Linked DNA regions of Homo sapiens: all the other regions are linked to region 2. Evidence: promoter capture Hi-C in 16 types of primary human blood cells and fetal thymus (Javierre and others, 2016). All regions are on one chromosome and are shown on one strand. The core of a region is centred on a gene start or on the middle of the fragment in contact, and the rest is flanking DNA. Distances in the headings are between cores, read along the strand shown.

Region 1 (3,261 bases), core at 292-2,791, 2.9 Mb after region 2:
AAAGAATAGACAAAACTTGGCAACAGATCTTGGTATGAAATAAATATCCCATGAGTAGTACATAAAAGCCTGGAGAGAGAGGGGAAGGATTGTAAGTGTCATAGTTCTGACAGCTGCTCTTTCATCCTATGCCTTTAAAACAAAGGGAACAAAGAAGGGAACAAAGAAGGTAGAAGCGGGGGTATGGAGGGTTGACTTCTGGCTGTCCCTCCCTGTTTCCCTTTGTTAATATATTGCTAGTAGACATGTCTACTTCTGGTTGCTGATGACATAAAATTCACCTCTATTTCTTGGAAGCACTATTCCATGTTGTGAGCTAAAGGGGATTGTACTGATCTTGAAGATAACAAATCTGCCTGCTTCAAAGGTTTCACCGATTTTATTGCTGTGTTTCCAACACATTTCCACATATGGTATGATATTTAATTTGCAAAATAAATCCGTAAAGCAGGAATTACTAACCTAATTTTGCAGATGAGAAAACTGAGGCTTAAAGTTGTTCAAGGTCAAAGTCACGATGTCCATCATGCTGTAGCTCAATGAATGAGTCTCACATTGTTTCATGTTGTTTTATTTCTACTTTCTCAATCCATGTACAAGATAGATTTACAAACTACTGTTTTATGTTGGTTGTATGAATTTCAATACATTTACTGTTAGAAATAACAAAAGGTCTTAGACTGCCAGATGCTGTTCCCATCAACTCTACTTAATTCATAATATAGCTGAACTCTGTCATAAATCTAATAACGATGTGGACATTAGCCAGAAGTATGATGTGGCTGAACCTCACCACTGAACACAAAATGAGAATTCACCTCATCTTTTCATTTGAATTTATTTCTACTAAAATATATGTATTATTTTTCTTGATTTCTAACCAGGCCCCTTCTGAAGAAAACTGGTTAACTCTAAATTGTTACTAAATTTTGAATCTTCCTGTATTTAGCAATAAAAGTTACTGCTAATTGTAATAACAATTATGAGGAAAAATTTATTTAAATGCTTCATAGAAAGTTAATTTTCATTTAATAGAAAAGAAATAAAAAATCTGCTTCAGACTGTTTGATTTCTCTATTAGGCAATTGACCCTAACTAGTATATGGTGATTTTGAGTATTAAAAAAGAAGTTATAATTTTCCAGAATATTAATGTTTATTATTTTGAAAGCAAGTAAAATTCTCCAGTAGGAAGATTAATAAAACAATTCATTAAAATTCTCATCAGAAAATCCTATGCTTTCAAATGTATCTGCTCAAAGATGTCACTCTATGTGCGGCAAAGCTTTGTTTTACTTGATCAAGAAATGAATGTGACTTTATGATCTTGTATTCAACTGTGAACAGCTGCTCATTAATAAAAAGCCATTAAAGTCCAAGTCAGAACAGCAGGTCTAAAATTGTGTTTGAGGGAAAAAAAACCCACCCTTTGATGAAAAGCCAGGGAACTGGGTTGGGAAAGATCTGGAAGCAGAGGGCTGTGTTTGCAGTCTGCTCCTACCTCCTGGGCCAGGTCAGGTGACAAGGCCAGAGTTAGCCCCAGCTGGAGAAGTCAGAACAAAGCCTATGTAGGCTTTGAAAGGGGAGAGTAAGTGGTGGGCTGGAGGTTGATAGTGTGAATAAATCAAGCTGGTAATTGGGCAGAGGCTGATCAGAAGCGTTAAAGTGAGCAAAATGGTTTGGACACAGAGCAGACAGAATTTACTATATTCCATTGAGTAAAAGAAATTCATATGCCAGGTTCTATCCCTTATGTTCCTCCCATTTGACATCTGGTGGTTTCCTACCCCCGTCCCACACAAGCTTTGGGGAGAGGACAGGACTTAAAGTTCCCTGTTCCCAAGAGGTGGTCCCTAAACCCAATCCCAAATTATTGACTTGTGATCCCAATTATGGGCTTACTATTTAACAAGTAAAGATGATTTTAAAATATTATTTTATAGGTATTACTAAAGTAAATTTTAAATTTGCAGTCTTTAGCGAGCTTTGTTTTCTGTTTTGCTATTGTGTTGGGAAACAAGTACTCAGTAACTAGCTGTTTCTGGAAAAGTATATACATTTCGTTTTGTTTCATTTGGAAATGGCAAATTTAATAAAGAAAACTGAAGAATCAGGAAAAAGAAGAAAATATCCTTGGGCATAATAAATTGTCTAAAGCAATCAACTCTTTAAGAAAAAAAATTTAAACACGTTTATATCCGAATATAGGTTATTTTGGATTTTTTTTTTTTTTTTTTTTGAGTCAGGGTCCTGCTCTGTCTCCCAGGCTGGAGTGCAGGGCCCAATCATGGCTCACTGTAGTCTCGACCTCCCAGGCTCAGGTGATTCTTCCCACCTCAGCCTTCTGAGTAGCTGGGACTACAGGCATGCGCCACCAAACCTGGCTAATTTTTAAATTATTTGTAGAAACGGAGTTTCGCCCGTTGCCTGGGCTGGTCTTAAATTCCTGGGCTCAAGCGTTCCTCCTGCCTCGGCCTCCCAAAGTGCTGAGATTACAGGCATGAGTTACCGTGCCCAGCTAGATAACTCGATTTTTTAAATCCAAAAAAAATTTAGAAATTTTATATTGAAATTTAGGCATTAGAATTCTAGAGATTAAAGTTAGAGCAGGTGTTTAAGGGACTGAAAGGGGTTGCATGGCCTTTGGGAAATGCAATTACCGGAAATGATACTGTAGTAATGCAATAGTAATGCAGTAGTAGTAGTAGCTGCAGCAACAACTGTTATCTATGAATGTTTGCTATGTGCCAGGCTCTGTGCTAAGAGAGCTTTGCAAGCATTACTACTGCATGAAGTAGGCACTATTATGGCCATTTTACTGATGAGGAAATTGAGGTGAACAGATTAAATAATTTTACCCAACTTTACACAGAACCATTCCAGAGCACGAGCCATAAACACATCTTTCCCGTCTTGGAAATTAAATTATTAATAAAAAACGTGGTGCAAATTGGAAAGAGGACGGTTGTGGTAGATTATCACAAAGTTAAGTGGGTAGGTGGTTGCTGGGTCAGGGTGGGAGAACAAAGGCAGCTGTAATAAAAAAAAAAATTAAAGGCATATAAAGAAAAAGGCTTGTTGAGAACAATTTGCATAAACTGATTTTGGCCTTAGACCCTATTCACTTCTCCCTCACCAGTCACTTTGCAACTGTGGAGCATAGTATTCTGAGGGTCCCCTGCACATAACAACCCCTTTCATAGCATACAAGATAAAAAGAAGAATCAGGCTGCAAAGAGAGAAGCACTGAAGGAAAGAACAT
Region 2 (3,751 bases), core at 598-3,097:
ACCCAAAACAGATGGGTTAACTACCTGTAAATCTGGATTTGAACTGGTAGAATGAAGCTTCCTGCAAATGTTGGATGTAAAAGTGCAGATCTAATCAGGTAAAATCTCAAGCATTAATTGGATATGCTTATAACAAACCGGTAAATTTTTAGAAGATGTAAAACATATCTTAGAAAAATAATTTAAATTATTAATGAGAATTAGACTAAGTCATTGAAATTTGATTTTTAAAACTTACCGAGCCTCTCTTTCATTGAACTCAGAAGTAGTGTGAATGGTAAGTCTTCCTTGTCAAATGGAATGCTACTTAGCAGCTGTCTTAGCTCGTTCCAGATGCTATAATAAAGCACCATAGACTGACTGACTGGTTTATAAACACACATTTATTTCTCACAGTTCTGGAGGCTAGAAGTCCAAGATCAGGGTGCCAGCATAGTTGGTTTCTGGTGAGGACCTTCTTCTGGTTTGCAAACTGATGTATTTTTGTATCCTCCTGTGGCAGAAAGATGGAGACAGCTCTCTGGGTCCCTTTTTTATAAGGGCACTAATCGCATTCATGCGGCCTCTATGCTATGAATTACCTCCCAAAGGCCCCATCTCCTAATACCATCACATTGGGGTTAGGATTTTAACAAATGAATTTAAGGGAAAGCACAAACATTCCGTCCACTGCAACATCTACAAAATAGGTCCTTAGGAAGTGCAGAAGTCTGGAACAGTTCTTTCCCAAGCCACAACCCTGAAAACATGGATTGCTGGGTATGCAGATTCTCCTGGGTCCCTTTCCCATAAACACCGAATTAGACACTCTGAGGATGCAGCCCAGACATTCTGTATTTTTCACCAGGCATAATGGTGATGGCTGATATTAGAATGGTGAAATTTATCCCACCTAGTAAGAATCTAAACTGAAAATGGTGATGATGCAAAAAAGATCTGTCAACCAGTTAAAAAAAAAAAAAAAAAAAGAGGGTGTGTGTTTGTCAGGAGGGATAGTCTTTAGTAGTATGGCCAAAAGCTTAAGCCTGATTTTCAGGGCTCTATTGTTGGAGTGGGTAGTTCATCAACTTCCTAAGTAATTCAAATCTTTTTCCCCCCAATATATTAATATATTGGTGATTCCAAGAAAGAGGGTTTAATTTATTTAATGCCTGGGAAAACTAAAAGAACTACAAACAGATGTGAAAGGAAGAGAATAACCACATCTCACAGGAAGCAAAATTTCTGTCAAAAGTTACTGTTCTTTCCCTGTCTAGGTTCTTTGTCCCTGAAAGGTAGATCCGCAAACTAAATCCCTCAATAACGTTGCCTAAACAGGACTGGGATCATAGAATGTCCAACACTAACATGAGTTCATAATGGCACAACGAACTTAAAATGTTACTATTCATGTTTTAATTATGATTGCAGTCTTACGTTGAAGGTATCTCCGCCGTCCTTAAACATAAAAAAAAAAAAAGGAAATACAAGCTGCAAAAGTTTTATGTAATGCACTCCACCCTCTTTTTTCCCCAAGCCAACACACACCCTTCAAACTTTTTGACAGTTATTTTCAGACCCCTCCTAGGCTCCCGAACTCCATGCAACTCCAGCAGTCTCCCCTGGGCCATTTTTAGCCTCTGCTCTGACCTGGCGGGAGGCTGGGTGTCCACCCTTTCCCCTGCAGTCCTGAAAGTCCGGTCCGAGCGCGGACGGGGCGGGGAGGGGCTGGGCGGGCCAGGCCAGCTCCATTGGCGCCAGGCGGGTGGGGGAATGCGCTGAGAGGACCCGTCCAGCTTGCTTAAAAGCCATCAGTTTTCTGACCCCGCATCGGTTCCAGGAAGAATACACCTATGTGACAAGCTAAGTTCTGCCTCATTTTGCATTTAGAAGCCACAAGAAAAACTTTTCGAAAACTTTTGTCCGTCTTTTGCTCCCCCGACGCGTGGTTTCCTGATGGTCCGTCCCCGGGCAGAGAGAGGGACGCCCCCTCCTCCTCCCCGCCTCTTGTGAGGCGCGCGGAGCCGCCTCCCCTGGGTCAGGTCTGATGGGCCGGTGGGCGCGCTAGTGGTGGCCGCCACCGCCGAAACCGTCGACCTCCTGGGCCCCAGTTCCGCGTCCAGCCCCGCGGCAGCATGGACTACCTGACGACGTTCACCGAGAAGAGTGGGCGCCTTCTGCGGGGCACGGCCAACCGCCTGTTGGGGTTCGGGGGCGGCGGCGAAGCCCGGCAGGTGCGCTTCGAAGATTACCTGAGGGAGCCAGCCCAGGGGGACCTCGGGTGCGGGTCCCCGCCCCACCGGCCCCCGGCGCCGTCCAGCCCGGAGGGACCTGGTGAGCCCACCTTTCTTTCGCCTCCCGCGCGGCCGACCTGGGCTGAGGGCTGTGGGGAGGCGGCGGTCGTGGCGCCGGGCGGGGGTCGCTGCCCGGCTCTGGCAGGTGTGCCTGGGCCGGGGCGGGCAACGTGGCCGGGGTGGCGGCCGCCGGGGGCGAGGAAGGAAGGACTCGTTCGGCTCTGGGGAGGGAAGACTTTCAGCTGCGTGCCAGCTCTTCCTGCTCTGCTCTTCCTGCTTTCCTCACCTAGACTTGATTTTCTTTCCCCGCCAAGTATTTCAAGGGGACGATCCATTCTCTCTTTCCCTCCCACTGGGAGGTGAAGACTGAACCAGTTATGACGTCCGTGTTTTCAGTCTTGGATTCTTGAAGAGCGCTGTGCCTGCTTTGGTTTTGGTTTGGGTCAGTCTTTCCTTAATATTTCTCAGTTGTTAGGATTCACTTCCTAACCGAAAAATAAAAAGCCAGATACTTCTTTGTAAAATAAAACACTTCATTAACATTGGAAGCTAGTTGACATTTTGCGTCGTGTACTTTTTGAACGGCTGCACGTTGTCTTGTGGTGGCAGAACCTAGAAACTTTCTCAGTTCCTGTTTATTTTGTGTTGTGTTGGCCGATTTTTTTCACCACAGTGGCTTTGTACCATTCTTTAAAACAGTCATTTGTAGCGACATGATATTGATAACTTAAAGAATTTTTGAAAGTGCTGCTGAACAGTTTTAGCATAATGCATAGGGTAACTTCCAGTGTCCTTGGCTTCGTTTAACAGGTAGCAGACATCCTAGCCATGTCTGATTTTTATTTTTGTTAATTGCTTTAATATTTGAGGGTTATGAAAATAAATGAGCATTAGAGAGTTTAGAAAATAGAGATAGGCACAAAGTGTGTAAAATCTGTTTATAACTCCACATCGTGCCAGTCATTTTATTTTAAATTTTATCTTACTTTATTTTTGTAGAGATGGAGTCTCGCTGTGTTGCCCAGGCTGGTCTTAACTCTTGGCCTCAAGTGATCCTCCTGCCTAGGCCTTCCCAAGTGCTGGGATTACAGGCCTGAACCACCATGCTGGGCCCTGCCAGTTGTTTTAAAGCAGTAAAACAGTGAGGACATTTTTGATCTATGTGTGTAGGTATGTAATTTAAGCTTTGAAGAAATATTAAAGTCTCATTTTAGCATAGCCCTTTAAAATAAATTTTCCTTACTTTACATAAAATATTTTTTATCTTTAGAAATGCTGTTTATGGAATTAGGAAATGAAAAGGGGAGGGGAATACTTTTGTTTCTGCTCTGAAGGACGTTAACCAAATGCAGAATCCTCTTAAAGGTGGGACCAGGCATAGGAAAGGGACTTTAAAGTGTTCAAATCAAGGACTTTTTAAAATGAGTTTTCAGTAGCCTAATTGAAAACAGTTGATGTGTGACCAGCCTTGAAATGGG
Region 3 (3,442 bases), core at 384-2,883, 2.1 Mb before region 2:
TCAGGTTTTATCTAACACAGTGCTAGACATAAGCAAGGGCTCAATAAATATTTGCTAAATGAACTAAGTGAAGAGACAGCCAGGGTTAGGCTACAATCCTGACTCTACTACTTCATACTGGTTTGACTTCAGTTAAGTCACAATATTTCTGTGTTTCAATGTTCTCTTCCATAAAACAAAAGAAAGAGTACATATCTGACAGGATTGCCAAATAAGACCTACTAAAGATTAATTGGCAATAAATAAAGACTAATCACGCATCTTTCAATGTAAGTATTAAGTACTTGTAAGTAAATAAGTGCTATTAAACTTAATTTAATGTTAGTTTCCTTCCTTCCCTTCTATAACTTAGACAGTAAGAATTCCCTAAGCTAATACAGTATTGAAATAATATATTTATATATACTTAAAAAGAAGAGACTCTGATAACATGTATTTGAATAGATACATTGGTAATTTGTATTTGCAGGATCTAATCCTAAATTTTAGAAAATGGGAATAAATAATGTACATCTATTACTTAACTCTCTCAAAAAGCAGGGAGTGATAAGGAGAAAAGAAGAAAAACAGAAAAGAAAGGTAACCTTAGAAATTAGAGATCATCAACTTCCAATTCCTAAATTTAGAACAACCTTCCTCTTCTTATAAAGACTTGCAGTAAGAACAGGATTAATATCTAAAATAAAAATATTCTATGTTTACTTAAATCTATATAATTCTCACTTATATTTCATATATATTTTTACTGAACTTTCACCCCTTAAATTGTGGTATCACTGGTAAAGTGGGGAAAAAAAAAAGGAACAACATCTCATATCAGAAACACAAAAAGGCCCTCTTGTTCCCTTAATATTTTAATAAGCTTTAAATTTTCTAATTACAAAAGTAAATCTCAACATTTTCTTTAACTGCTGCTCACTTTTCAGGCTAAAATCCCTTTTATGTTCTTCAAAAGAAATTTTACTTTCTAGGAACCTTATAAATCATTTACCATACATCATTCAAATCTCCTCCATACTCTATCTAGAATACAGTTAACAGTGCTTGTTTAATACTTTCTGCCCTGATAACCACCTAGAATTTTGTGGAATGTGCTGCCCACCTTCATATTCTCCCAAGGATATGGATATAATTTAGATTCTGAACTCAAGGAAGGGTTTATGTTAAGCAATTAATTCAATTTTATTCAACACATTTTATGTAATCAAACTTGACTTTGTAAGAAGTAATTGGTATCTGGTTTAGATTTTTCCCTCATGTTCCAGTTACTTCTACAACCTTTCTAAAATTGGAATTTCTTGTCTACCCTTAAACCAGTTATTAAGTGCTACTGAACATTCCATAAAATTCATGGGAAAAGATTCATCCATTACATATATGCAAAGTAAAAAGATTATTTTAGGCTACCACAACATCTAGAATACTACTGTGAACAGTAAAGACTCTTGACTGTAATAAGCTGAAAACCAGTTTAAAAATGAATTTTATCACAAGTCAATCAGTATATGCTGTGAACAGTTCTACGACTATCAAATGCTCTGGCAGCAAGTAACCAAAAATTAACCATCTGCAACTCTTGAAGTTTATTGTAAAATGATATACAAACAAGAAACATTCTAAATTACATTTATTTATTTATTTATTTTTTGAGACAGAGTTTCACTCGTCACCCAGGCTAGAATACAATCGTGCAATCTTGGCTCACTGTAACCTCCACCTTCCTGGTTCAAGTGATTCTCCTGCCTCAGCCTCCTGAGTAGCTGGGATTACAGGCATGTACCAGCACACCTGGCTAATTTTTGTATTTTTAATAGAGACGGGGTTTCGCCATGTTGGCCAGGCTGGTCTCAAACTCCTGACTTCAGGAGACTCACCCGCCTCAGCCTCCCAAAGTGCTGGGATTACAGGCTTGAGTCACCACGCCTGGCCTCTAAACTATATTTTAAGGCTTCATCTTGGGTAGTGTTTTTCAAGCTAAGGACTGCAATTTATTAGTGGATCCAAAATTTATTTAATGAGTCCAGACCAGCAAATGAAGAAGGGAAGGGTGAGAAAGAGGAGGAATAAATAGAAAACATCTGAGTGCACAGGTAGTTAAGAGTACGATTTCATTAACTTTTTTCTCTATGTACATAGTACCCGAAGCAATGTGTATTTTAAGGGTGGGTTTGAGTAAAAGTTAGGAAACACTAATCTGGGAGACAAACAGAAGTGGAAAGGATAAAGCAACGGAACTGTCAGAATTACCAAATTGTGGTTTAGGAGGTGAGCAAGACTAACAGCTTCTATTGACTAGGAGACAGAGGTTTTGGAAACTCCCATAGATTTGTAAAAGCGAGACATCCCTATGTGAAAAATGACAAAGCACTTTTTCCTCTTACAGTAAGCCTAGGACAATGCGTAGCAAAGCTTGTGGTTGTCACCACTGATATTTTTATCCCTTCAAACTTTCAAAGGTGGCAGAGGTCAACCTTTACTCTCTCCTAACTCTTAGGCACATTGAATGCGGTTAAGATACAGTAGCCCCTGAAAGATAATTACAGGTCCTTGAACAACTACTTCTAGAAAACATTATATTCTAGATTACAATTTAGAGTTTCAGGTAAGACTCTGGCATTCAGAAAAGTTAATTTGGAAGTACAACAGTCACATATCAGAGCCCATAAAATCGTCATCTGGAAAGTAGCACCAAAATAAACAACAAAAAATTTTTTTATGTATGTGAAATGTTTCAAAAATCTGAAGCACACCTTAGAGTCATTTCATTTAAGAGTCACTCTGTGAAGAATTAATATTGGAGTTCCCTAAATATTGGCCAATCAACCTGCTTTTCTTTGTTAACAGTGATTGTGAATATTCAGTTTCATTAACAGAGCTAATTATTTTTGAAGCCTTTTAAAACACACACACACTTTTTACTGTATAGAGGACAGTTTCATAAATTACAGCTAGTATCTGTTCTAACAGGCTCAAGGCGACAGCTATTTCTCAGGATGCATCCACCACCCATTACAACTACTATATATTCTAAGTTACTCAATTCCCACTATTGTTATAGAACCACATCCACCCCATACTATTGTTACAGCCCTTTTTCACTATTATAAACCCACATATGGTTAGAGACAGAAGAGGACAAAAAACATGCAGCCATAAAGAGGATTTCTCAGTTCCAGGGTGAAGGGTTCCCTTTAATCTCTGCTGATATAGTTTAATGTTCTGCCTGGTTCACTACCTCCTTTTTTTTTTTACACTTTGAAACCTGCTGTGGCTTGAGACATCAACCTTTGGCATAATCACCTGCTGGTTTTATAATCTGCGGCCCACACTGTTGGAAAAAGGAGTTTCAGTCTTTGCTTACTAACAATTTGTGTTCCTCACTGAACACAAATTCCAAAAAGATAAAAGCTTTGATAGGCACCTACCAGAAAGTCACTTTGTG
Region 4 (3,621 bases), core at 1,048-3,547, 2.9 Mb after region 2:
TTCTGTCTATACTACAATAGTGTTGTTTTTATATTTAAAAAAAAATCCTAAGAAAAATCCTAAAAAAAAAAAATTTTTTTTTCTGTTTGAGTAACATTCTAGAATATGCAGGAAGTCAAGAGCAGGTAAGTCATTTGCTTTAGGACATCATCTGTAGACTTCAGTTCCTTCTGTTTTGTCACACGATCATACCCAAGAGCTATGATGTCTAAAATGTGTGCTGAGGCACCTCAGGGCTTTACATGAAATTCACAGGGATGCCATAGAATATTTTAAATTTTGCAGTGAAACATAGTGATAGCATCTGTTGAATACCTCAACTCAAAGTAGTTCACATTTGCAACATTAAATCCTGCAGTATTTTTTTATGATGGTGTTCTTTAATGTTTGAGATAAGTTTTTGTTTACTTATATTTTTGGTGACATCTCATTGCAAAGCCAGGATTTTAGGTTGTAATTAAAAGCGAGTACTGCACCAAAATTAATGTAGAACTGAAAACAAGAATGATGGTCTCCAGTCTTATTCTAAGGCATAAGAAGCTGTGCAGTGTTCAACAGGCACACAAATTTCATTAATAAGTTCAGTGATTGTGGTTATTTAAGAATAAAATAAAAATATTACTTTTTCTTTAAATGTGTATTTTTTACAATGGCTACTAAGCAGTTAGGATATACTTAAGTTTTTTGGGTGTAACTACCTTATTCAGTGGAATTGTTAGGTGTTTCTGTGGCCTAAGGGTACTGTGAAAAAGTTACTTACATACTAAGAGGAGGGTATAGTAAAAGAGGAAATGGACAGCAATCAGCTCTTTTTTTAATATATATAGACATGACTTAGAGGTTACACACAACAATTTTTGCACTGCCTGCTTTCCAGAGCTTAGTCATATGGCCCCCTAGCTGCAAGGAAGGATAGGAACTGCAGTCTCTGGCTATATGACCATTTGATAGCTGCTAAATTGAACTTATTGCTAAAAGTAGAGTGGTCTGGGATTTAAAAAAAAAAAAAAAATCCAGGGTATTGCAAGAGAACAAGTGGGTGAAATGATCATCTCTGGATGATCACTGGGGCAGAAGTGAAGAAAGAAATGGAAAATTTAGGTGGTTGACTTGAAATCACCCAAGAGGATAGGATTTGGGAAGTAGAAAAAGGAGCAAACTAAGTGTTCAAATTACCAGAGAATGAGGAAGAGAATGGCCAGAAATTCACCAGGTAAAGCAACATTAAAAATGGGTATTAATTGCCAGAAGGCAGGAAGTTAAAAGAAGCATTGTGTTAACAGTGGTGATGAAATGTAGATGTTTTCTTCTTATACTTCTATTTTTTAAAATTTTCATTAAATATAGATTACTTCTAGGATAAGAAATTTTCTTGATGTAAAAATATTAAGGACATTCCTATTGGCACTATAAATTTCTGTTGTAAATGTATACATATTTAGAATTGATTGTATGTTCAGTTTTAAAGAAAACTGACCATATGTTAGGATAAGCTTCTCTTTGGTGTCTGAAGGAACCTTAGACCATGTATTTTAAAATACCAGACTTGGCTAGGCATGGTAGCTCATGCCTGTAATCCCAATGCTTTGGGAGGCCGAGGGGGTAGGATAGCTTGAGGCCAGGAGTTCAAGACCAGCCTGGGCAACACAGCAGGACCCCATCTCTATGGAAAGGAAAAACACGCTTGTATCATAAATTTCATAAAGGACTATATTACTTTTCTATTCACCCTTTAAACAAATATAGCTTTGAATCTGTAATAAAAATAGCTGACTTTATCGTTCTTAGTTCTTAGTTGATGCTTTTTTTTTTTATAGATTATTTGAAGTGAAGTAAATGACTAATTATCTCTATTACCTGCCATTTTTTGTATGTTGTGCTATGTAGCAGGCACACACTGTCTAGGGTTTTTAAATATGTCACTTAATTAAATCCAAACAACCCTGCAAAAGTGGGTTTGAATACCTGCATTTTATAGATGAGGCTGTTGAGGCTGAAAAGTAGGTAATTCTAACTAGACATAATAGAAGTAACATTGAAAACTGTGGTTTACACAGATTCCACAGCCCATGTTCTTAACAACTGAGTTATAGTACGTCCTGTTGAATGTGGTACTTTTCCTACTAATCCTTAAAAGTAAGTTACCATTTGGTTCAAACTAGTGATTTTTAAACTTCTTAATAGTTAATCTTATCAAGAAACCCCATGTGTAAAACATAAAAGCCAAGCCACCCTGTTTAAAACAGCAAAGGTGGCCCAGAACTTCACCCACAGAACCCACAGCACTCCAAGGAGCATGCTCTGAAACCGTCTTGCATTTTTATTTTTGACTTTATATTCCTCTTGAGTTTGTTTATAATTCTGAGTCCTAAGCCAAAAAGCAGTTATGTTGTTCTGTCCAAGATTTAAAAAACATTCACAGGATGTCTGATTTATGACTTTTTTTTACCATAAATTAGTGAGTAACTGTTACTAAAATCAATAATCATAAAATTGAGAAAGATCTTGTTTTATAAGCCTTCAATTACCATACATAATAGTGCTTTTACTTTGCTTGTTTTGGTGGTTCTTGAAATAAATTATTTCATTTTTGTTTCAGATCTGGCAGAGGACGGAAATTAAGTGGAGACCAAATAACTTTGCCAACTACAGTTGATTATTCATCAGTTCCTAAGCAGGTAGGTTTTTTTTGTGTGTTCTTTTGTTTTGTTTTGTTTTGAAAGATTGAATAAGTGTCCTAGAACAATATTTTAAAAACTGGATTGCAGATCATTAATAGAAATTAATTTTTGTTGTGTTGTTAAATTTATCTGGTCTGAAAATTCTATTTGGTTCTACATTTTATCTTCTGTTTCTTTGTTGACATTTTCTATTGTGTTTTCATTGGTTTCAAGTGTTTGCTATTGTTTGTTGGAGCATTTTTATAATAGCTATTTTAAAGCCTTAGAGAATTCCAACATATCATTTTGGTGTTGGTATCTGTTGATTAACTTGCCTTGCAAATTTAGATGTATTGTTTTTATATGCTGAATAATTCTGGGTTGTTTCATGAACATTTTGAATACTATGTTTTGAGACTTCATCTTATTTAAATCCTGTGGAGAAGCTTGGTATTTTTTATCAGATGATCAATCTGGATAGGCTTGGGTGAAAATGTCCAGCCCTTCTGTGAGTTGTAGTTTTAATGTCAGTTCAGTTTTCAGAGCATTTGCTTTCGTTTTACTTTGTTTTTTGTTTTTTGATGGACATAATAGAATAAAATAGAACAGAATATATCAGAATGTCTTGTATTTTTTGAACTTTTGATCAAGTTTTGATCTGTGATATGAAATGTATGTTTTCCCGTGGGTTAAAAAAGTTTGAAAACCAGTGTTTTAGAAAGCCCATTTTTCTAATAAATCATCAATGATGTGTTCATTAAGTTGCCCCTTTGTGGCTGATAATGTTGATCAATTAAATTTAGACAGATGTTGAAGAGTGGACTTCCTGGGATGAAGATGCACCCACCAGTGTAAAGATCGAAGGAGGGAATGGGAATGTGGCAACACAACAAAATTCTTTGGAACAACTGGAACCTGACTATTTTAAGGACATGACACCAACTATTAGGAAAACTCAGAA

The links. The method cuts DNA at HindIII sites, captures the fragments that hold promoters and counts their contacts. A CHiCAGO score of 5 or more calls a contact.
Region 1: a fragment that was not itself captured here is called in contact with the fragment with the promoter of OXR1-AS1 in region 2 in 3 of 17 cell types (non-activated CD4 T cells, naive CD8 T cells and total CD8 T cells); the score reaches 8.8 in non-activated CD4 T cells.
Region 3: a fragment that was not itself captured here is called in contact with the fragment with the promoter of OXR1-AS1 in region 2 in 1 of 17 cell types (fetal thymus); the score reaches 6.1 in fetal thymus.
Region 4: a contact is called between a fragment that was not itself captured here and the fragment with the promoter of OXR1-AS1 in region 2, in 1 of 17 cell types (non-activated CD4 T cells). The highest score is 7.3, in non-activated CD4 T cells.

Annotation. Positions count from the first base shown.
Region 1 is chr8:109,535,830-109,539,090 of GRCh38, forward strand. It overlaps PKHD1L1 (PKHD1 like 1), which reads left to right. Exons shown (of 78, transcript NM_177531.6): 78 at 1-1,378. Among named protein-coding and RNA genes, the nearest start is that of EBAG9UORF, 2.3 kb to the right of the region's middle. The HindIII fragment of the contact is 518 bases long and covers 1,283-1,800 here.
Region 2 is chr8:106,655,873-106,659,623 of GRCh38, forward strand. OXR1-AS1 (OXR1 antisense RNA 1) reads right to left here and starts at 1,848. Exons shown (of 3, transcript XR_007061059.1): 1 at 239-1,848. All of the region lies in intron 3 of OXR1 (oxidation resistance 1), which reads left to right. RefSeq lists an enhancer at 1,739-1,948 and silencers at 2,019-2,268, 2,309-2,458. The HindIII fragment of the contact is 2,439 bases long and covers 1,017-3,455 here.
Region 3 is chr8:104,583,597-104,587,038 of GRCh38, forward strand. The region is part of intron 1 of LRP12 (LDL receptor related protein 12); the gene reads right to left. Among named protein-coding and RNA genes, the nearest start is that of LRP12, 3.9 kb to the right of the region's middle. The HindIII fragment of the contact is 1,547 bases long and covers 861-2,407 here.
Region 4 is chr8:109,551,266-109,554,886 of GRCh38, forward strand. It overlaps EBAG9 (estrogen receptor binding site associated antigen 9), which reads left to right. Exons shown (of 7, transcript NM_004215.5): 3 at 2,600-2,678; 4 at 3,464-3,621. Among named protein-coding and RNA genes, the nearest start is that of EBAG9, 13 kb to the left of the region's middle. The HindIII fragment of the contact is 1,613 bases long and covers 1,492-3,104 here.